Regions from separate parts of the Homo sapiens genome. Here all the other regions are linked to region 3. The links are contacts of gene promoters, found by promoter capture Hi-C in blood cells and fetal thymus (Javierre and others, 2016). All regions are on one chromosome and are shown on one strand. The core of a region is centred on a gene start or on the middle of the fragment in contact, and the rest is flanking DNA. Distances in the headings are between cores, read along the strand shown. Region 1 overlaps SLC18A1 (solute carrier family 18 member A1). Region 2 overlaps LOC105379312 (a long non-coding RNA gene). Region 3 holds the start of SH2D4A (SH2 domain containing 4A). Region 4 overlaps LOC105379311 (a long non-coding RNA gene). Region 5 overlaps SLC18A1 (solute carrier family 18 member A1). Region 6 overlaps INTS10 (integrator complex subunit 10). Region 7 has its middle 60 kb from the start of LPL.

Region 1 (3,431 bases), core at 917-3,416, 860 kb before region 3:
GGGTATCCTTGTCCAATGTTCTAAAAAATACTTAAAAGAGATTGTTGATGCCCGTTACTACCCTTAAACCCTCCACCCCCCAACTAGGAGCCATGCCTAATGTAATCAAGAGTGAAATGGTGGCCCATGTAAAGGGTCCAAAGTGAAAAAAATAATTGCTTTGGTATTCCTAAATAGAATGACCAACTCTCCTGGTTTGCCTAGAATTGAGGGGTGTCTTAGTCCATTTAGCATTGCTATAAAGGAGTACCTGAGGCTGGGTCATTTATATTAGAAAGAGGTTTGTTGGCTCATGGTTCTGCAGGCTCTACAAGAAGCATGACACCAGCATCTGCTTCTGGTGCGGGCCTCAGGGAGCTTCCACTCATGGTGGAAGGTGAAGGGGAGCTGGCTGTGCAGAGATGAGAGAGGAAGAAAGAGAGAGGAGAGGGAGGTGCCAGCCTTTTTTTAACCAGCAGCTCTTGAGAGAACTGTAGAGTGAGAACTCACTCACCACCAAAGGAAGACATTAAAGTATTCATGAGGGATCCTTCCCCATAACCCAAACACCTTCCACTGGGCCCCATCTCCAACACCGGGGATCAAATTTCAACATGAGATTTGGTGGGGACAAACAACCCATGTCCACACTGTAGTGAGGGGCTTCCCAGGATGTAAGACTTCCTGTTTTTGTGGGGTATTTTGAGTTTCAGTTTTAAAAACAAGGAAGTTCTGGGCAGACCAAGATGAGTGGGTCACTCTATTCTCAAAGGACATTGGGAGAGTAGACAGAAAAGACTGGAAATAACAAAGTCTGAGAAAAGATGCTGGTGGCCAGGAAAGAAGAGACCAAGAATGTGCATCTTTGGGAGACAAGGAGAAGTTCGGTGTGATCATGTCTGCCGGGAAGTAATGGGAGAAGATTAAAAACACAACCAAAGACATCTGTAATGAATGGGCAAAGGGATTACAATTCTTCTGATTCAGACACTTCGAGGAGATTATTCTTACCCTAGGAGACATTTTTCTGGAATTGGAGGTGAGACATGTCTGGACTTAACTACCCTGACCACCAGCACCCTCTGATTTAGTTTTGTGTTGCGGGAAGTCAGGGACCCTGAATGGAAGGACCTGCTGAAGCCATGACAGAAGAACATAAATCATGAAGATTTCATGGACATTTATTAGTTCCCCAAATTAATACTTTTATAATTTCTCACACTTGTCTTTACTGCAATCTCTGAACATAAAATTGTGAAGATTTCATGGACATTTATCACTTCCCCAATTATCAATACTCTTATAATTTCCTATGCCTGTCTTTACTTTAATCTCTTAATCCCATGGTCTTCGTAAACTGAGGATGTATGTCGACTCAGGACCCTGTGAGGATTGCGTTAACTGCACAAATTGTTCATAAAGCGTGTGTGTTTGAACAATATGAGATCTCAGAACCTTGAAAAAAGAATAGGATAATGGAGATGTTCAGGGAGCAAGGGGAGATAACCATTAGGTCTGACTGTCTGGGAGCCTGGCAGGACAGAGCCATATTTCTCTTATTGTTTTGGATGACATATTCCTGTTGGATCTCAGTTTCCTGGGTGTCCATCTTCAACACACTGCCTCTCTTCACGGACAATAACTAGATGTTATTTTTATTTTGCATTTGCTACAGAGTCTAGCAGAGCTGCGCATTCAGTATAATTTAATACCTGCTGATTTTGTCTGGTTAAAAGATCGTTCAATATAAGATATAAAAAAGGATCTGATTGTATCACAAGATATTATTTTCTACCCAATTCCTATAATCCTCGAAGCACCTACTTACTGTCACTGTACTCCAGATGATCCTGTGGGACCCAGCAATGGTAAAGACCAGATCTGGATTTTGCACATGGACGATCCAGGAGTATGATCTAAGAACCAGTTTCCAGCCTAGGACACTGAGCTTCATGGACATCCCTCATTTCAGTGGACAGAATGTTGGGTTCTTGGCAAGAGATGTACAGACTCAGCCTTCCATCTGCTGTGTGGTGACTCGGTTTATACTTCTGTGGTTTCTCAGTTTTCTTGCCATTTAAATAGCAAAACTGAGGAGTGGGAGATTGAAAAGACAACTCAAAAAACAGGGAACAGTCATCATGCTTTATTAAAAACATATGCATCAAGACTCATATCTGCAGTATCACGGGCATGTTCTCTGGCGGCTGGGGAAGCAAAGGCAATTTGCTAACTGCAGTTATCTTGCTATTCTCTCTGCCCAGTGTTTGCTTTTTCTGGGACCTATACTCTACTCTTTGTGGCCCGAACCCTTCAAGGCATTGGATCTTCATTTTCATCTGTTGCAGGTAACACTGGCAACTCATCATGCACACACACATGCAGGCATGCACACACACACATCTCTTACTACCTCAGATCCTATATTTACATGGAGAAATTAAGGAAAATGTCACCTGGATAGGTAGAAATTGTGATTCAGAAATAAGGGAATTGGGCTGGGCACAGTGGCTCACACCTGTAACCCCTGCACTTTGGGAAGCCAAGGCAGGAGGATAGCTTGATTCTAGGAGTCTGAGACCAACCCGGGCAGCCTGGGCAACATAGTGAGAGCCCTATTTCTATTAAAAAAAAGAGAGAATAAGTTAGCCAGGCATGGTGGTGTGCACCTGTGGTCCCAGCTACTTGGGAGGCTAAAGTGGGAGGATGGCTTGAGCTTGGGTGGTCAAGGCTGCAGTGAGCCATGATTGTGCCTCTGCACTTCAGCCTGGGTGACAGAGCTAGACCCTAACTCAAAAAAAAAAAAAAAAAAAGAAAGGAATTACAGAGTTTCTAACAGGGTCCATAGATCTCTGAGCCTGACATAACTTCCTCTGCTAATATTCAGATGCAGCTAGCTCAGGTCAGAGCAAGCCTCCAGTGAAGCTATGAAGAAGGGCAGGCTTTCATTTAGTGCCACTCTATGGTCCTTTTTCTGTCCCCCTCTTAGTACTTTATAGGAATAATCATGTTAGTACTACTGGTAACACCAGCACAGTTTTCAAAGTACTGGTGAATATAATATCTAATGCAATCTTATGAAGTTGGCATTTTATGCCATTTTACCCATAGCTATGAAGGCCAGAGGGTCCAGCTGCCGTACAGCACTAGCCCACACTTTCTTCCAGGTCTGCAGTGCTTTCCTGCTCTTCCCTGGGCACCCCTGTTAAATAGAATGGTCTCTGTGTGCCTAGATTTTCCTTTCCCTGATCTGCTCTGTAACCCCTCATTTTGGGAAATGTGCTAGGAAATGATAAAATGTTATGAAACATGGTATAATCAGACAATGGATTTTCTGTGTTATCCTTCCAGAGGGCTTGCACTATCAACAATATTCTGAACAGGAGTGGACAATGTGGGGGCTTGGGGGACTAGGGAGGGTAGTACTTGAAAAATACTACGGGTTAAGTTTT
Region 2 (3,034 bases), core at 320-2,819, 820 kb before region 3:
GTAATCCTGGCAGGCTTCCTCCCCTTTCAGAGCCCCAGCCATGGGTTCTCAGTGTCTGTCTGCTACAAGGCACCATCAGTTTTTGGGGTTGTAAGCTCTTGTCCATTCCCTTGGTTTCAGCCTCCTACTGTCCCTCACCAGCAAGCCACTCATTGTCCCTGTAGCTGCCCTGTGGCTCTTTCTGTCTTCCTGACAGCCTCACAGAGGGTGGCCCTGGGGCCACGGCTCAGCCCTGGTGGCCTCTGAGCTGTGTCTGTCAGGCAGACACACAGGTACCAGATCGACGGCAGAGCAGGCCAGTTAGTGCCTGGTCCTCCTGCCTGTATGGGACCCGGCCTGCGTTGAACTATGATCTTCAACACTCACAACCACAAGCCACCACCTCAGCCCAGCACCCACTTGTGGCCACAGCGAGCTCTAAAGACTGATTTCGGTGCGTGTGGCCTGTTCACATTCCGGCTGGAGCTATGAGTCCTGGAAAGTCCTCAGCCCACTTCAACTCACCCTGGATCCCAGCCCTGCTCACCCCTTGCCAAGGAATACCCAACCCTTGCTCACCAGGCCATCTGGTATATGCAGAAGAGAACCCAGGCTTCAGGGTCAGAAAACTGAGCTGCGATTTCTTGCTGCTCCACTTATTCTCTCTGTGACTTCAAGAGGGCATCACCCCTGGGCCTCGCTTTGCTACGTGTGTGCAGTAGAAGGTTTGGATGACACCTGTACCAGAGCCCTGGGTCCGAATGGAGTGATGTGTGTGAAGCCACGTTGCATACTCTAGAGTTCTGCGCAAATGGCATGTCCCAGGCTCTCAAGAACTTTGGGAAGATTGACTTCCTTCCCAGAACATCTTTGTGAATTGAGCTGGGACTTCTGGAGGCAGGATTGTAGCCCAGAGGCGTGATGGCTGCTGGGAAGGAGAACAGAGTGAAGAGAATATCGGCTTCTCGGTATCACTGGTGTTGATAGATCCAAGGTTTGCTTTAGGATGCCAGGACTGCAGGAGGTAAAGGGACATGTTCACTACAAACCCCTCAATTAGTCACAACAAGTCCCGCTTGCAGAGGGAAACGGCACAGCCTGACCCATCTGATTAGCATGTGTTGATATGGGCCAAGGTATGAGATTAACATTTTATCTGCAAAGCTTCTGTGACCTCCTGCTTGCAGTTGTGAAGTCAGGACTCAACTCACAGTGTCTTGCTCAAGGTCCACATAAACATATTATGCTCACATTTGGGCATGGCCCTGCTTGGCAGAGCTGAAGCTGCGTACGTGAGGCATATGTATGTATGATCCAGCTGCTGTCTGATGCTTGCAGAATTGGTAAAGAGGTTGCCGAGATAGAAGAGCCAGCATCTGTTCTCACCTGTCTAAAAGTCCACTTGAGATCAGATTGTAGCAAGTGAAATGTTTGGACAATGATTCGGATAGCTTTCTTTGTAGCCTGGGGCAAGTCACTTAACCTCTCTAGACATGTTTTTCCATTCCTCATAGAAGAACAGGAAATTCTACTTTCAAAGGGAATCATGGCCTCTTAGCTCTGGAAGAAAACTGAGCGGGGTATGTTAGGCCAACCTTCTTTGGTCCCAAACCTCCCTTCTACCACAGCCTGGAAAAAAGGGCCTATCCTATCACTTTTACTTACATACCTCCTCCCACAGGGACCTCACTACCTCTCCTGAAGCCCATTCTTATGTGAGAAAGCTCTGATAGTTAACAAGCTACTTCTCATTTTCAGAAGAAGGTTTGGTAGCCAGGTTGATCAGGGAATGTTCAGCACTGGTTTGGGGAGTCGAGACGCCCCTGAGCTGGCCTGCCTCTCAGCAGTCAGGGCCATACTACTGCCAAGGGGGGTGATACAGTAGCAGCAACCGCTGCTCTCACTGGTTCTGTTGTCTGCCTGGACCAGCTGCCCTCATCTCTCATCCTCCACACCCCAGCTTACACTGTTTCTGCAGACTGAAATGAGTTTCCCTTACACTAGACAGAAAGCTTGCTATCTTTCTTCAAGATCTAGCTTAAATGCGTCATCTTCCATGAAGTCTTCCTAGATTTATCCAGGCCACACAATTCCTCGCCTGCATCCCCAGAACACTGAGCTCTTGCCTCTGTTATAGCAGGAGAACATAACATAGCAGTTGTATTGTTACAAATCATCCCTCAGTACATTCTCTGCTCTTCCAGGCTAATTACTGGGTCTCATATCCATGCTGGCATCCTCAGTATCTGTTGCAGGCCACAGCATATAGTGTGAATTCAATATTTGTGCTGACCCATCTAGACATAGACATAAATAAAAGTATATACATACATATTTTACTTCCTCCCTTCCTTCCCTCCCTCCCTCTCTCCCTCCCTCCATCCCTCTTTTCCCTCCCTTCCTCCCTCCCCTCTCCTCCCCTCCCCTCCTCTCCCTTCCTCCCTCCCTCCCTTCCTTCTCTCTCTTTTCTCTTTTCTTTCTCTCTCTTTCTCATTTTATTTTTTTCCTGCTACAAGCTCTTGCATGTGGAAGACAGAGTGAAATGCCCTTGGAATAACTGTAGTTTGTAGGAGAAGGGTCGTTGTCTACTGGAGGTTCAGAATTTCTCATAAAACACTTTAAAATGATGTGTGTTGGATGCGTTTAAAAGTAGCACAGTTAGTGCATTTATACTAAGCATATCAATGTACTGAGTAAAAGCAAATTAGAAAATTTAATTTGCTAAAAAGAACATCTGGATATCTAAGTAAAAGAGGTAAGGCTGTTATTTGACTCTGACCTGCATTCTTACTTCCATCGTCCTGCCCCAGTCAATAAACTCTTTTGGCCGGGTGCGGTAGCTCACACCTGAAATCCCAACACTTTGGGAGGCTGAGGCAGGTGGATCACCCGAGGTCAGAAGTTCAAGACCAGCCTGACCGACATGGTGAAACTCCGTCTCTACTAAAAATACTCAAAAATTAGCCAGGCATGGTGGCAGGCACCGGTACTCCCAGCTACTTGGGGGGCTGAGGCAGGAGAATCGCTTGAACCTGGGAGGCAGAGGTTGCATTGA
Region 3 (3,437 bases), core at 579-3,078:
ATACAACTGTCTTTTGAATAACTCTGAGACCTAAACAAAATACAATTTTAAAAGGCCTTAGATACAGGCTAAATCATAAAAATAGTAGGCGGGCACAGTGGTTCTACATGTAATCCCAACACTTTGGGAGGTGGACATGGGTGGATTGCTGGAGCTCAGGAGTTCAAGACCTGCTTGGGCAACATGGCAAAACTCCGTCTCTACATAAAGTATAAAAATTAGCCAGGCGTGGTGGCCCGCACCTATAGTCCCACCTACTTGGGAGGTTGAGGTGGGGGGATCTCTTGAGTTGGAGAGTTTGAGGCTACAGTGAGCCGAGATCGCACCACTGCACCACAGCCTGGGTGACAGAAGGAGACCCTGTCTCAAAAATTAAAAACATTAGGTCGGTGCAAAAGTTATTGTGTTTTACATGGCCAAAAAAAAAGTAACTGCGGTTTTTTTTACGTAAAAACCGCAATTACTTTTGCACCGACCTAATAAAATAAAAAATAAATAAAAGTATTGTGGTATGGACAGTGTAACTATAACATTAACAATACAGTTTGAATTCTAATTCTTTTAAAACAGCCAGCTCTGTGGTCCAACTTTGTTTTCTTATTGAAACTTTATCTTATTCATCTACCAGCAAAAGGGCTGTTTTTGAGGATGAAACAAATTACCAGAGATGACAGCAGTTTGTAAATATATACTATTCTTCAGAAATTTGAGATTACTGTACACACAGATTTAGTATACATAGAGAATTCCACTCATATGCCAAATCTATGCCCCTGTATGCTTTCCACTTATTTATTCACTATTTTAAAATAATCGTACCCAAGTCGTTGTTTCTATTAAACCAGCAATCAAACGAAAGCCTTTGGAGCGATGAGGAGCATCTGTTTGAAAGGGGGAGGTGCCACGCTTGCTGCTTCTCTAAGCTCCCTGGGAAGGGAGAGACAACTCAGAAAACCTACAAACTGTAGCTCCTTCCGGTGCCCGCGTGACCCCCGAGTCCAGGAGCGGGCAGGGGCGCCGCTTGGCTGAGCGCACTGGGCACCCGGTCTGGGTCTGGGCCAGCCCCGCCGCTGCAGCCCGAGGGAGGCGGCGCTGCACTGGCCTCCGCGCGCTCCCAGACCCCACGTGGGGGCGCCCCTGGGTGCCGGTGCGCGGGGAACGTGCTGCGGGGGTGCTGCGCCAGCTGCCACCGTTTCCCGGGACTTCCCTCCTGGAAGATTTCCATGCGCAAGTCGAGGACGTGCTCCTGCTAGGAGTCTAGAAACTCTAGGCCAGCCCGGACCCTCCCGGGGCCTGCACTCCCCGCGGGTGGAAGCACGCGCCGCGTGTCCCTGCCGGATTCCAGAACTTCCCCGAAGGTCCTCAGCCCCGGCAGACCCTCTCCCTCGAAGTTCCCCCGCCACCCCCTGCAAGCCCCCAGGCCCCGGGGACCGCCGCTCACCTAGCCAGCGGCTCCAGACACCGGACACCGGACACCGGACACCGGACACCCGCCGCGGCCGCTCTCGCCGCCCAACCCCGCACCTGAGCCCGCCCCGGGCGCCGCGAAGGGGTGGAGGCGGGGGTGAGGCTTCCGCCCGCCCGCTCTGGCCCCTGCGCCTCCCATGCACCCATGCAACCTCCGAGGAAATTCCCTTCCCCCTACTCCCACCCCACGCACACTCTCCCCAAAGCCTCGCCCCACCCCCAGCACCTACCAGTGCTGGGCGCCCCTGGGCAGGGTGGCTCGATCACCCGCCACATCCACTTGGCCGCCAGAAGCCGTCGGGGAAGGGAGGGAGGGAAAGGCAGAGGCGTCCCAAGCGGCGCAGGCGGGCTGAGCAAATACTCCGGCCCGGACGCAAAACAGCTCTTGTAGCCGTCCCGCCCGCGCCGCCCCGCCGCGCCCACATGCCGGGGTGACTGGCGGGGCGCAATCGCGGCCCCACCCGGGCGCCTGGAGGCTCTCCAGGGCCACTCGTCGGCGAGGCTGCGTGGCCTGCGCATCTCGGGCCGCCTGGCCCGCGCGCTGTCCCCGAGCTGCGGTAGTCCGGGGTAGGCTTGTCCTCTCCTCTCTTAGTTCATGAGACAGGGATCTGCAGTCTGTGATCTCTTGGGGACTGCAGGACTTAGATTAAATCTGCAGATCTGGGCCTTTCCACGTTTCAGAGCTCGGGGTTCCTTGCTAGGTGTAGGGTAGGAGGGTGCGCAGGCCCCACTTGTTCACTCTGCTTGGGTGCTGCAGGCCAAGGCGACTCTGGAGCTTTTTTTTTTTTTCTTTTGTTGACATTAAGTAAATGATCAAACTCTTTGGCACTTGTCGGTACACGTGTGGCTTTGTAGGACAAGATGAAGGAAGGAAAAGGCTGGAAGGAAGGAGACCGCAGTCAACACAGACAGGTGGAGAAAATGAAAGAAAACTGGGGGAAAAGTTAAGATGCTGAAAGGAGTCTTGAGGATTGCAACAAGAACAGGTTGGCTTGGTGCCTGAAGACGTCAGGGAGGAGCTGGCAGTCCACAGTTAGAGGAAATCTTGGAGGAAAATTGAGCAGAAGCACAGTGGAAAGGCATTTCCACTGGAGGGCATTTTCCATCCTAGAGGAGCATGTGGAAGAAAACCGCCTGCTTTGGTGAACCCCAGATTTTGTGTATTGGGAGAGATGTAATAAACAGTAAACACCAGTAGTCCTCTCCACGGACTACCTGACCTCTTTAGGAGCCTGACCTGCTGGATTCAAACACAAAATGGCATTTCCCTGCCTCTCCAAACTGCAGAAGCTGTGCAGAGTTACATCAAGCCTCGGGGCAGGCGGCATTGTCAGGAAATAAGACCCAGCTATTTAGGAACAATTCCAGGAATCCCATCAGGGAGGAATTTCTGGTGTAAGGCTTAGTTCCTACTGCAGTTTAAATGATAGCATATGGGGTGCTTTAGGCTGGAGTGGGATTGGCCCCTGGAAAGCTGCTATGACGAGGTCAGAATGAATCCTAGCCCTGCATGGATGCATCAGTTGAACCATACAGGGTGGTTTATCAGTTAGGAAAAATCCCACAGGACACTGTGACAGCCTACCTTCCTCACACCCAGTCTCTCTCCAGGTCCTGGCAAGTCCTTCCTTATAACAGCTTTATCACTGTGCTACTAACCTCTGTACCTCACTTTCCTCCTCTAGATAAAGAGTGTCTGCCTCGGTAAGTTGTCAAGAGGGTTAAATGAGATGCTACATGCAAAGAGATTAGAAGAGCTCTTGGCATGTGGTGAGTGTTCAAACACATTCACTCAGATCAGTTCATATCACATTAAGGTACTGGAATTCCACATTCCTGCCATCTCACCCTAGGCTGTGGGTTCTGCCCACCATGCCACCTACCTTCCAAGTCATTCCCAGGGATCCTATCCTCCTGGTATTCACATCCTTGCATAGCTCCCTGCCACTTTGTAAAGGTTGGTATGCTTG
Region 4 (3,035 bases), core at 322-2,821, 790 kb before region 3:
CTTCATTGTGACCATTGTACTGTGGTTATATAAAATGTTAACATTTGGGGAGTTGGTGAAAGTACATTAGAATTCTTTGTGACATTTTTGCAATTTTTATGGAAGTCTGAAATTATTTCAAAATGAAAAGCTTGAAAAAGTTAAAAAAAATTTAAAAACCTCACACATACATACTCATGAGATTTCCAGGGTTCCAGAAATAACTGGGAGTTGGGTGGAAGAAGGTGAGAAGGTCTTCAGTGAGGTATGGGAAAATGAAGAGTTACCAAAGGGAGAAGCTAGTATCTATTATTTTTGGGTACTAAGTTAAATATAGCATTTTTCATTCACATCTCCTTTATGTGGCTATTTTGAGGTTAAGTAGAATGGTGAATATAAAATGCTTAGAGCAGTCCTTGGCCCACAGTACGTGCCTAATAAATTCTAGCCACTGTTTTGTCATCTCCATGGTTGCCATCCTGGTTGTAATAAGCTCTTGAGGCCTAGGGGTGCTCTGGTTACACACATATTCCACTTGGAAATGTTCACATCTGTACTTACTTTCCCTCATGTACAGACTCGGCTTGACCCAGATTTGGTTTGACTGTGTCCCCACCCAAATCTTAATGAATTGTGACTTTTCTCATACAGCCTTGCTAGTGTCCAAACAGTATGGACAGAGCCACTGTTCACCCCACCCCACCCCCTTCTCCCTCTGTGCAGCCTTGGCTCCCCACTAGGGAAATGCCAGCCTCATGAGTCCCCGTCTAATTGTGCAACACCGTTTCCACTGTCCCTCCCTCCCCACATCAGCCCTCGCCTACCTTCGGTTCCTGCCTTTTTGTCTGGGGCTGGCTTGAAGCCAGTTCAGTGCATCAGATGGCGCCTACTCAGCAGAGATGAGGGTGCCAGAAGAGCCCTGAACACTGCCCACCGTCGCCCCCAAAATAACCTCCCACACACTCCTGTTTGCTGATCTTTGAAATTCTTTAGCAGAAGATAAAGCCTTTGTCCAGGAAACAGAGAGATGTGGGGGAGGAGGCCATGGCTAAAAGAATAATGAATTTAGAGGACTTGGATTTTAGTCTTAGCACACACTTTGGCTGTTTATCACTTGCCTTTGTGAGACTCATTTAACTCTCCCAGGGTCAGGTTTGCTTGCCTAAAGGGGAGGACAGTAAAACTTGCTCTGGATGTCCCAGAGCTTTGATGGTTGAATGACTTAACACACATGAACTGCTGTGTGCATGGGAGGTGGCCTTACTGTCATGAGAGCTGATAATTGAGTGTACTCATTCCTGGGGGAGGAATTACACTGAGCTTTTAAGACTGATTAAAATCAATCAATCCAATGGGATGGAGAAGTGGATGCTGGCTACTGTACCTAGGGTTATAGTTGAAACATAAGTATGAAAATTTAAAACGACTGAAATGTTTTTAGATCATTAAACAAGACGTGTGTATTTCATAGGTGCCACTTCCAAAAAGTGCTTTGTGGTTGATCCCTTCCTCCTGCATCCCATGAAACCCAGATGAGAAACCAAGAAGATAAGATAAAAGCAATTTTTCCTCAGGTCCCAGCTTCTTGAATCTCTTGTTCGTGTTTGTGGGATGCCAGGTAATTTTCAGGCCTCAATCCCTGCAATAAGATGCTCAGAAAGGAAGCAACATGTATCAGTCAGGGACCAGCCAGGAGATAAAAACCATACAGATATTTGAATGTGGAGAGTTCACTATAAAGAATTATTCATTGGAAAAAGGTATTGAAGTAGTGGGGAATTGGTCAGTAAGGAGGGGAGAAAATCCCAAATAATGTAGGATTTGCAGCTATAGAGAGCAGTTGCTATCCCTAAGGCTGAGACCCAGACCTCTTTGAGAGCCCAGCCATGGCTCAGTGCTCAGCCACCAAGTTGCAGAGGTGCCATGGTGGCAGAACTTGCTGTTAATCTTCCTTCTGAGGTGCCAGGGAGAACTGTCCACAGGTAGGTGATAGGTCTCAGGACTCACTGCAAAGATTCCTGAGGAGGTGCTGAGGTCCTGCAGGAGCTGGGTGCAGATGTGGTCACTGACTGCTGGGCTCAGATACTGAATAGACTGTGTATGGCAAGAGTCCAGAGGGGAGAGTGCTCTGGAACCTGGAGGAGAGAAACCCCTTCTGGTGGCAGTGTTCTTCCAACATCTTCTGCTAACAAGGGTCCACATTGTGCCAGCTAGCAAAGGGGAAATACAGGGCCAGCTCCGTTGACCCAGAACAATGAAGGGTGAATTTGGAGCAGAGAGGCAATAAATTGATAACTGACACAGATCATGGCATTTTACAGGGAACATTGGGCTCTAGGCCCAGCATGGGGACATATGGCCTCAGACAGGTCTCATTCTCTGAGCCTCAACTCTCATGGCTACAAAATGGGATCTTATATACTTATCTTTCAAGGCCGGGATCAAATAAGACAGAGGGTGGAAATTGTCATGAATAACAGGAGTCACAGCTTCAATATGTATAATGACACCTATTTCACTGACAATTTTAAAGTAATTTAACAATATGAGTTAATCAAAACAACATTTATTGACTCATTTCTCACTCTTGGGAGGCGTCAATGAGAGAATATGCTCAGTGGGTTTGCCCATATTAAGTGCAAAAGTAAATGTTAGTTGTAATCAACTCATTGTTAAGTTACTTTCTCTATAACAAAATAGTGATGCATTTATTTTTCCTTTACTATGTAGTCACTCACTTTGTTTATTGAGTGCCTACCATTTGCATACATGAAGCCGAGTGTTGCGTTAGAGGCCCAGGAGCCATGATCACTTTGAGGAGTGGGGAGATAGAATGCTTTCAGGGATGTGACTCCTTGGGAAGAAATGCTGTTTATTTCTCTCAAGAGCAGAAAAGCCGCCCATGTTCTCTTGAATTATGGCTACTCTAAAGTCAGCCCCATGTGGTTTCTCTCCTGTTCCCACCCTCCCTCGTTCCCGCTGTCCCTCATTTAGTTGCTTATGAATTCTGAGCATTTACACAAAGAAGCTTTCATTTTTGAAGAAAGCTTTGCAGG
Region 5 (3,227 bases), core at 436-2,935, 830 kb before region 3:
CAGAGAGAGAGAGAGAGAGAGAGAGAGAGGGAGAGAGAGAGAGAGAAAGACACAGACATTTAAAGACTAATTTCCTTTAAGATGAGCAGAGATGGCTTGGCAAGGACTGTCAGAAAGACTGTTTCTGAATAGGCAGGAATTTAGCACGGGGGAAGAGGCCACCAGCTGCAGTGGCTTTCCTTTGAGGGGAAGTGGGAAAGGAGAGGAAGAGGGCTGTAGGGCAGCTGGAGCCGGAGGTCTGAGGCTGTACATGTGGGCATATGAAGTGATACATGTTGGTATCCATTTCTGGGGATGGCAAAATGGTGCGTTTTATGACTTCATTTACTCATCCCACCCTGACAGAGCCTCATAAATCCCCAGGGAACCATCATCTATGTCCCAGTCTCTGGCACCAGAGGCTTGATAGAAGAAGAAAGAAAGAAGGACTTTTCCATTTCCAAGAATCCCCCTCAAGTTCTCAAAGCCTTCATTTCCTCCTCTCCCCAGTGGGGATGAGAAACACACAAACCTCCTAGGCCTGAGGGAGAGAAGAACAGGGCTACAAGGCACTGTAAACTGTGCTCAAGACCAGCTGGAGGTCCTGAGCAGGAGCATGGGATCCGGGTTCCATGGCAGGTTTTGCCACTTTCTATGCATGTGACTTTGAGCAGGTTACTTCATCTCCGTGTGCTCAGCATCCTCATCTATGTAGAGAGGGTTCTGATGGTGTCCACAGGGTTGTCAAGGTAATCCAAATAAACCACAGTGTCTGGCACATGGTGAGCCCATAGTGAATCTCAGCCAATACTATTGATAATTTATAAACATTTCTTGAGGCATGAACCCTAAAAATTGTTATCAGCCAGCAGCATCTAAACGGTATGCTAAACCCTTAAGGGGTGAGTGTCCTGGGGTAGCAGGTTTGAATGGCAGGTACCCAGAGAGGGAGGTAAGGAACCTGAAAAAGAGGGAAGAAGGGGTTTTTGTTGGGGGATTGGGAGGGCAATGGGAATGAGTCTCACAAGCTTCCTGACAGGGGACCCAAGCCACACCACCTGCCCCCTCTAGCTTACAGCTAACTGGTTGTTGGGGCCTCTTCTCTATCTTCTTTTTCCAACAGCTACCAAGTTAGAAGTCTAAATGAAACCTTTCAGTGATGTCCATAATGGAAAACAGAGGCAACTTTATTCCATGAAGAATGAGACCAGGAGTGTATGTTTAGGTGAAGAGGGGTAGAGGAAGGGGAGAAAGTATCCATGGAACAGAGGAAGACCCTCGTTAGAGCATAATGGAGCCAAGTCTGAGGTCCAAACTTGATCTTGCCACTCATTAGATCTGTAACTCTGGATAGAGCAATAAATAAACACAACAGCGCTGGTCAAGTTTTCATATCCTTAAAATGGAGGTATAGATTCTTTTCCATGAGAAAGTCTGAGAGTGCAGGAGGATGATGTATGTGGCCAATAGTGCACTCTGAATAAATGCATTTCATGTGAAAACTCTTTGAACCTTGCTCCCACCTGACCCATCTGGAGTCCTGATGACTCTTCCTCCTTCCCCATGCAGGTTCCTCTGGCTCACAATATTTTTGGTCTCATTGGCCCCAATGCAGGGCTTGGCCTTGCCATAGGTAAGAAGTGCCCTCAAAGAAAACAATAAGCCCCTGCATGTTGGCTTTGGGTCTGATGCCTTTCCTCCCCCTTTTCTCATCAGAGGAGGTAGGTGCAGAGGCAGAAGGATCAGGAGGGCAGCTGGCAGGGTTGTGGAGAGATGAGCTCGTAATTCCCACCTGGAACAGGTGTTAGTCCGAGGCAGAAGACAGCAGACAAAGCAAATGGACTAAATGGAGGAGGAGAGGCGGGGTGGTACTAACTGTGGGTGGGGCTGACTGTGTCCTGTTTGCTCTGGCCACAGGCATGGTGGATTCTTCTATGATGCCCATCATGGGGCACCTGGTGGATCTACGCCACACCTCGGTGTATGGGAGTGTCTACGCCATCGCTGATGTGGCTTTTTGCATGGGCTTTGCTATAGGTATGTTGGCAGGACCTGGTGCCCCACTTTCCCCTGTCTACTCTTTACCAGCTGGAAGTGCAGCCAGGAAGCTATCCTCCTAGGGTTCTGGAGATCTTTGACGCTGAGACATCCTCTGGGTCACCCACTGCCCCTAGCATAGTGTCCTACGTGGAGGATGCTCCATATGGAGGCTCCATAGACACTTATGACTTTGATGTATCCCTCCCAGGTCCATCCACCGGTGGTGCCATTGTAAAGGCCATCGGTTTTCCCTGGCTCATGGTCATCACTGGGGTCATCAACATCGTCTATGCTCCACTCTGCTACTACCTGCGGAGCCCCCCGGCAAAGGAAGAGAAGCTTGTAAGGAGCACCGACTGTTAAAAGAGAAATTCACTTCTGTTTCTTTCCATCATCTCTCTCATTCCCTTTCATCCTGGGCTGTTATTTCCTCCCTCTATTGCTCTGTTGATACTCTCTCTGCTTTGCCATGTTTCCCAATCCCCTTTCATCTTCATATTTCTTTTGTGCACTTCCTTAATTTCCCTTCTCTAAGTAACCACTTCCCTCTTTCTGGGGCTATCAGGAAGGGTCTTCAGTAGAGAAGGGAAATGGGGGCAGAGGACCATCAAAGACATCCTGTAGTTACTGTTCTTAGCTTGCTAGTTACTAGCAAGATGTGAGTTACCAAGTTAACTCCCTCATAAGTGGGCAGAATTCCATTGGCACATCCGTTCATCCACTCATTCACTCTAGTGCAACATTATCCTTACCAGGTCACTTTTTTTTTTTTTTTTTGATGGAGTTTCACTCTTGTTGCCCAGGGTGGAGTGTAATAGTGTGATCTCGGCTCACCACAACCTCTGCCTCCCGGGTTCAAGAGATTCTCCTGCCTTGGCATCCCAAGTAGCTGGGATTACAGGCATGTACCACCATGTCTGGCTAATTTTTTGTATTTTTAGTAGAGATGGGGTTTATCCATGTTGGTCAGCAGGTCACGTTTTTAAAAGTACAAAAACCCCAGGGAAGAGATCCATACCATAGGATTTTCTTTAATAAAGCACTTTCCTCTTACTGCAGCACAAACATCCTGAGGGCCTGATGGGTTTGGGATACCGACAGAGGCTGCTCAAGGGAACAAAAGAAGACATGAAGGTGTGATAGGGAGTGGTGGTGATTCCATTTGGCTTCCTGCTGTAACTTTCACTACCACTGTTAAATTCAGTTAA
Region 6 (3,021 bases), core at 492-2,991, 530 kb before region 3:
TCTACCATGTTAATTTAGGCATAAGTAATTAACCTTGAGATTCACACAGTGAAGACTGGGCAAATCCCTACGAGGTCAGATCACTAAGGAATAATCCCTATTCCTGCTTCCAAACTGATGAAACTGCAGCCTTCCTAAGAGGCTTGTCTTCTATAGAAAGTTAGAAGAAATTAAGGGTTGTATTGATCAAGGTGGGAGACCCTGGAGTTCTCCCTCACTAGTTAGAAGTGCATGATGGGTATCCTTTACACAAACAACTCCAAACACTCTTCCCTGTGATACTAGCTGGTACCCAACACTCCCCTTGCTCTCATTCCTCATCCTAGGGTTTGTCCACTTGGACTTATGTCACTCTTCAGCTCAGTAAAAACTGGTAGAAGAAGAAAGGTTCAGTACAATGAAGTCTGAGGTTCAACTGTTGATTTTTTGACAATCCATCTCTCACACCTGCACTAACAGTTAGGCATTATCTAGGTAAAGTGATAATCATCTGCAGGTTTAATCCTATGTACACAGACTTCGGTTCCACTATGGCTGTCTCTATATTAACTCGTATAGTGACTGCTGATGGGAATTAACTAAAAAGCTTGATTCAGGGTGTATTTGTATATCCAGTTTCAAAGTCTAGAAAACAAATCACAATACAAAAGGGGTTACCTGGGCTTCCGTATCCAAAGGTAATCTTTATCCCCAAACACTGTTAAGAATATTTTGAACAACATAGTTATTCTTCCCAAAGTTTCGATTCACGATCTTAGAAAAGTAAATGGGGATTGGAAGATGCCAGTCCTTGTCCATCCTGCTTAAGCAAACCAATGCAGAAAGGTCTCGTGTATTTTTAAAAAGAGCACTGTTCTTTTATTTTAAAAGTTTATAATTTAATAACACTTATAAGATGAAGGAGAAAAAACCACTTAATCTTTCCATTCTTGAGAATGGAGTCCACAAGACCCTATTCTTGCTAGACACAAAAAGAAATGTTTGCTACCAGCAAACTACTGAGGTTACAGAAATCTAAAATGAACATTTCTTACTTCTTTCCCTAGGCACTTCTAAGACTATCAAGATAGAACAAGATGTGGATTTTTGCTTTCAACCACTGAAAACTAGTTTATTCCACAACTGAGGGAAAAAGAAAAATGTTTTTAGTTTTAGCAGTACTTTCTTCTCATTCAGGATTCAGTCTCTTGCAGAAACTCTAACACTGACTTACAGACACACTGAATGTGCAGGAAGCAAAGGAGGAAGTATGAAAATAAAACTACACGTGGCATTTACAGCAGAGAGGATATATTACCCAAACTACAATGAGGATTGAAGGAGAGAAGCAAGATTTATGAGCTATTTAAAAATCATAAATGGTCACTAATTTGGCATTTTCATCTGGGCCAACCCGGAATTTTAGTAACATCTTGTGAGTTCAGGGGAGCATGGTGGAGACCAACCACTCCCACCATCATTTCTTGGGACAGGTGTGTTCTTAGAGGCACTATACCTGGCTATTAATACTTCGTTGTTATGTAAGTCATGAGGACTGCATAGGAGGGCTTCATAGGTAGTTTATAAATAAAAAGTCTGTAGTTTTTCCTAAAGAATTTTTCTAACCCAGCACAATTTTAATTAAGCACAGCTGTTTTGTTTGTTTGTTTTTTTTTTTGAGATGGAGTTTCACTCTTGTTGCCCAGGCTGGAGTGTAATGGCGCGACCTCGGCTCACTGCAACCTCCACCTCCTGGGTTCAAGCGGTTCTCCTGCCTCAGCCTCCCAAGTAGCTGGGATTACAGGTGCCCACTATCATGCCCACATAATTTTTTTTTTTTTTTTGTATTTTTAGTAGAGACGGGGTTTCACCATGTTGGCCAGGCTGGTCCTGAATTCCTGGCCTTAGGTGATCTGTCCTCCTTGGCCTCCCAAAGTGTTGAGATTACAGGCGTGAGCCACCATGCCTGGCCACACAACTGTTCTTAATTAAAGGCACTCTGTGACTAATCAGAAACTTATAGACTCACCCTATAAATTTTTGAAAGTAAAAGATATCATGAATGAGACTTTTGTCTAGTGAAAAAGTTGCAAATGTGACAAAAATACCCCAATTTAAGCAAAGTGTTTTAAGAAATGTAGTTAAGGAAATGCAAGTTTTTCAAAAGGTACCCAGAATCAAACTATCATAACAGAGACCAGGTTTAAAGTCCTTTGTATTAAATTTTTGATAGGTATAGACATTTACAAATACTTCATACAAAGACACAAAAGGTGAGCACTCAGCATGGAAGAGCAAAAGAGAACATGCTTACTTGATCAGCATTCCTTGATTGGGTAGTAATTCCAGATGAATTTTCCCACCTTCCTGAGTTCTCAAGTAGGCAAATTCCTCCAGCATATCAATATCTGCAGGCCAGATTCAGGTTAACCACATGTAAAAAAAGGTGCTAGTTTTCTCTGATGAGGAAATGGGGTCTCGGCAGTTGAGTAACTTGCCCATTGCCATCCCACTAAAAAAGGTGCCAGTTCTCTCTGATAAGGAAATGGGGTCTTGGCAGTTGAGTAACTTGCCCATTGCTACCCCACTAACTGCAGACTCCATATTTGAACCCAGATCTGTCTGATGCCAAAACCTGATTCTTATACCCACTAAACTCCCTCGCACAGATAACTCTTGGCATGAGATGTGCCAGGCTAAAGAGCATGAGGACAACATGTTTTCCATATCGATAATAATTAATACTACATGGTCACAAGAGCAAAATTTTTTTGTTTTCTTAATAAGAAATGAAAGAGGAGGTGAAAGTAGGGAGGATTCTTTGGTGTTACAGAACATAAAATTCATAAAAATCAAGTGATTACTTCTTCATAACTGGGGTGCAAGGGTTTATAGATGCATCAGAGGAGGAAGCTTCTGTGAGTCACCCAAATTTTATGCAATATGTCGATGACATTCATGTATGCATTTTTCTAGTGAAAAATTATGTAACTTTCATTAGATTCTCAAAAGATATCTGTCCCAAACCATGGTTAAAAACTA
Region 7 (3,437 bases), core at 931-3,430, 570 kb before region 3:
GCAAGAAGCAGGAAGGATGGGCTTATTTTTTCTTATGCTCATTTGTCACTGGCTTCTCCTTTATCCTGGGAGGTACATTTGGCTCTTTGTTCCTGGTAAAAGGTGTTCTTGGATCTTGCATGGTGGCATCATGCCAGGTGTGGCATCAGGAGGAAGCTGTGGGGTCACTGAGGTCAATGGTAAAAGCTGCAACCAGAAAAAAATGGGCTTCCTGGAATCTGCTGGACACCCTCCATCAGTGGCCCCGGCAGGACTTGTTCCCTTGGACTGCCAGGAACTGTGCTCCTGAGCTCTGCGCTTGGTGCCCAAACACCTCTCGAGAAGAGAATTTCTAGATTTCAGTGTGCATAGAGATCATTTGGGACCCCACTAAAGTACAGGTTCTGACTCAGTAGGTCTGGGCTGGGACTGGAATTTCTAACAAGCTTCCCGGTGATGCTCATATGAATCGCACAGGGGCCTCTCCTTGAGTAGCAATGTTTTTGATTATTTCAACTAACTGATTATTTGAATTAGCTAGGAATCTTGAGAGGAAAGGAAATGGTAGTTATAAAATAAACCAAGTGCTGAACTCCACAATGTTAGTGCTAAAGGGACAGAGAGAACATCCACAAAAGGGAGGCCCAGAGAACTGTGTTTCCCCAGCACTCATCCCTAGTGAGGGGTAACAGTGCTGAGAGCCAGAGGCCAGGCCTCTTGATTTCCCGAGCAAGACTTTCCAGGTCACTGTGTTGTTCCTTGTGATAGACGGGTCTGGAAAATACTGAAAGAGAGAGGACCCTAGAACTGAAGAGAGAGGTGGAATAAAAATATGAAGAGCCTCAAAAGAGGAGAAAAGCAACTGAGAGAAAAAGTGACAAGTGGCAGGAGTAAAAAAGTCTGGCTGCATGGGTGGGGTCAGTAGGAAGTCCTCTAATGATTGGAATCAAGGATATTGAAAGATCCTGACCCCAAACTTTCTTCCAGTTGATATTACAAGTCTGGAACCATTAAAAAATGGACTCTGTTGAATCTCCTGACACCTTCCCACAGCCTCCATTTACTCCTAACTTCCCATTGGCAATGTCTCTTCCTCGTTATGAATGGCTCTCTTATGGTGAGGTTCTTTTCAACTGAACATTCCTGTCTTAGTATTGGCTGCTGTAACCCAATAGCATAACTTGATGGCTTACACAACAAGCATCTATTTATCACAGTTCTGGAGTCTAAGATCAAGATCAAGATGCCAGCAGATTCGGTGTCTGATGAGGGTCCGCTTCATGGCTTGTAGGTGACCAGCTTCTCTCTGTATTCTCATGTGGCAGAAAGAGGATGAGTGAGCTCTCTGGGGGTTCCTTTTATAACGGTGCTGATCCCATTCATGAGGGCTACACCCTCATGACCTAAGCACCTTTCAAAGGCCCCACCTCCTAATATCATACCTTGAGGGGGTTAGCATTTCAGCATTTAAATTCTATGGGGACACAAACATTCAGGTCATCGCAACTACTGAGAAATTTAATACCTGTCTTTATCCTCTTGGCAAATACATGTAAAAGATGCTTATTTGGGAAAGACAGAAGCATCTTTGGCATGTTGGCAAGGGTAGGGGTGGAGGAGAGAAGCTGCAGAGCTGAGATGAGAAACAGGGAAGAACCTTGAAGGCAGCAGGACATTTTCACTAAAGAGCGAACTGCAATGCATTTGCCTCAGTGCCAGGAACCCCAGAGAAGAAAAGATGATACTCAAGAAGTGTCTGCTTAGCAGAAGAATTAGAGGCAAAGCCGTGTGCTCCCTGTGTTGGTTCCTGCTCTGCTCTTCATGTGAGCATTCCAGATCCTGAGCCTTGAGGCCCTAGAATATTCACCACGAAACTTACAGTCGAAGCTCAAATGGTGCCAACACTGTAAATATAGCGTTCACATTCTCCTTCACTGTGAAGACAAATGAGGGTAATGAATCTAGGCGTTCTCTTCTCTCAGAATATTTGGCATTTGAAAGCACTTCACATTTCTATCATTTACTTGTGTGTGTAGACACCTACTTCCAAAACAAAAACACAGTTGGCCCTTGAACAACATGCAGGTTAGGGGTACCAATCCCCCACCTAGTCAAAAATCCATGTATAACTTTTGACTCCCCCAAAACTTAAATACTAACAGCCTACTGTTGACCAGAAGCCTTACCAATAACATGTTCTGTATGTTACACGTATTATATACTGTATTCTTCCAGTAAGTGAGCTAGAGAAAAGAAAACGTTATTAAGAAAATCTTAAGGAAGAGAAAAAGTATTCACTATTTGTTAAGTGAAAGTGGATCATCATAAAGGCCTTCACCATCACTGGAGTAGGCTGAGGAGGAGGAGGAAGAGGAGGGGTTGATCTTGCTGTCTCAGGTGTGGCAAAAGTGGAAGAAAATTCACCTATAGGTGGAACCACATGGTTCAAACCAGTGTGGCTCTAGGGTTAACTGTAATGATGACATATTAAAGCCATCACAAATTTTAAAGTAAGTCATCCGTTATTGTGCTTTATTAATAAACAAGAATCTCCTCTTCAATTGTCCTTCCCTCCTTCCATCTCTCTTTACCTCTTTTTCTTTCTTCTTTCCTTCTTTTCTTCTTCCTACCTTTCTTTCTTCCTTTTTTTTTGAGATGGAGTCTCACTCTGTCACCCGGGCTGGAGTGCGGTGGCCCGATCTTGGCTCACTGTAAGCTCCACCACCCAGGTTCACGCCATTCTCCTGCCTCAGCCTCCCAAGTAGCTTGGACTACAGGAGCCAGCCACCACACCTGGCTAATTTTTTGTATTTTTAGTAGAGATGGGGTTTCACTGTGTTAGCCAGGATGGTCTCGATCTCCTGACCTCGTGATCCACCCGCCTGGGCCTCCCAGAGTGCTGGGATTACAGGCATAAGCCACAGCGCCCAGCCTACCTTCCTTTCTTTGTTTCATCCCTCCTTCTCCCCTCCCTTCCTTTCATTCTTTCTTCCTTTGATTTAGTTGGAGTTCAGAGAAAATCCTAGTCTTGTCAAAATTAACTTTGATTCTTGATAGGATAATAAGTCTCCTCTAGAAAATAAAAGTTTACTAAGCAGAAACAACTTTGAAAGCAACTACCCATTTTTCAATGCAATCTACTTTCTGTTTTAGAGAAGTTCTTTTTCAAAATTAAGTGTCCTGCTAACTAAGCTCTCAGGCTATTAGTTGAAGTGAATGAAATTCCAAAGATTTTACTTTGGCTTTTGTGTGGTTTATGCTTTCTAAATTTCCTTCACAAAGAATAGCCTGTAAAATTGTCTAGAAAGTGATCCCTTTGGGGAAATATTTACTCTTGAGTATTTTTATTCTAAAAACAAGAGCTTGATGTTTAATGAACAGTTTTGCTTAAGTGGAACCATAGAAACTCTTACAGGGCTGTGTTTATGTTCTCTGAGATTCGTTGAATTTTCTAGAAG

Evidence for each region. The method cuts DNA at HindIII sites, captures the fragments that hold promoters and counts their contacts. A CHiCAGO score of 5 or more calls a contact.
Region 1: a contact is called between a fragment that was not itself captured here and the fragment with the promoter of SH2D4A in region 3, in 5 of 17 cell types (naive CD4 T cells, activated CD4 T cells, total B cells and 2 more). The highest score is 5.9, in naive CD4 T cells.
Region 2: a contact is called between a fragment that was not itself captured here and the fragment with the promoter of SH2D4A in region 3, in 2 of 17 cell types (naive CD8 T cells and activated CD4 T cells). The highest score is 6.7, in naive CD8 T cells.
Region 4: a contact is called between a fragment that was not itself captured here and the fragment with the promoter of SH2D4A in region 3, in 4 of 17 cell types (total CD4 T cells, naive CD8 T cells, non-activated CD4 T cells and 1 more). The highest score is 7.5, in total CD4 T cells.
Region 5: a contact is called between a fragment that was not itself captured here and the fragment with the promoter of SH2D4A in region 3, in 5 of 17 cell types (naive B cells, naive CD8 T cells, non-activated CD4 T cells and 2 more). The highest score is 5.8, in naive B cells.
Region 6: a contact is called between a fragment that was not itself captured here and the fragment with the promoter of SH2D4A in region 3, in 3 of 17 cell types (non-activated CD4 T cells, activated CD4 T cells and naive CD4 T cells). The highest score is 6.0, in non-activated CD4 T cells.
Region 7: a fragment that was not itself captured here is called in contact with the fragment with the promoter of SH2D4A in region 3 in 4 of 17 cell types (non-activated CD4 T cells, activated CD4 T cells, naive CD4 T cells and 1 more); the score reaches 6.8 in non-activated CD4 T cells.

The regions. Positions count from the first base shown.
Region 1 is chr8:20,173,257-20,176,687 of GRCh38, reverse strand. SLC18A1 (solute carrier family 18 member A1) reads left to right here. Exons shown (of 16, transcript NM_003053.4): 5 at 2,244-2,327. Among named protein-coding and RNA genes, the nearest start is that of SLC18A1, 8.2 kb to the left of the region's middle. The HindIII fragment of the contact is 4,634 bases long and covers 1-3,431 here.
Region 2 is chr8:20,127,444-20,130,477 of GRCh38, reverse strand. It overlaps LOC105379312 (a long non-coding RNA gene), which reads right to left. Exons shown (of 3, transcript XR_949563.2): 2 at 559-2,276. Among named protein-coding and RNA genes, the nearest start is that of SLC18A1, 54 kb to the left of the region's middle. The HindIII fragment of the contact is 848 bases long and covers 1,146-1,993 here.
Region 3 is chr8:19,312,084-19,315,520 of GRCh38, reverse strand. It overlaps SH2D4A (SH2 domain containing 4A), which reads right to left and starts at 1,828. Exons shown (of 10, transcript NM_022071.4): 1 at 1,698-1,828. The HindIII fragment of the contact is 8,347 bases long and covers 1-3,437 here.
Region 4 is chr8:20,103,606-20,106,640 of GRCh38, reverse strand. The region is part of intron 1 of LOC105379311 (a long non-coding RNA gene); the gene reads right to left. Among named protein-coding and RNA genes, the nearest start is that of SLC18A1, 78 kb to the left of the region's middle. RefSeq lists an enhancer at 2,114-2,615. The HindIII fragment of the contact is 2,877 bases long and covers 133-3,009 here.
Region 5 is chr8:20,146,392-20,149,618 of GRCh38, reverse strand. SLC18A1 (solute carrier family 18 member A1) reads left to right here. Exons shown (of 16, transcript NM_003053.4): 13 at 1,549-1,612; 14 at 1,897-2,016; 15 at 2,228-2,361. Among named protein-coding and RNA genes, the nearest start is that of SLC18A1, 35 kb to the left of the region's middle. The HindIII fragment of the contact is 1,351 bases long and covers 1,010-2,360 here.
Region 6 is chr8:19,845,070-19,848,090 of GRCh38, reverse strand. INTS10 (integrator complex subunit 10) reads right to left here. Exons shown (of 17, transcript NM_018142.4): 16 at 2,294-2,387. Among named protein-coding and RNA genes, the nearest start is that of INTS10, 29 kb to the right of the region's middle. The HindIII fragment of the contact is 2,306 bases long and covers 589-2,894 here.
Region 7 is chr8:19,877,778-19,881,214 of GRCh38, reverse strand. No RefSeq gene overlaps it. Among named protein-coding and RNA genes, the nearest start is that of LPL, 60 kb to the left of the region's middle. The HindIII fragment of the contact is 3,506 bases long and covers 428-3,437 here.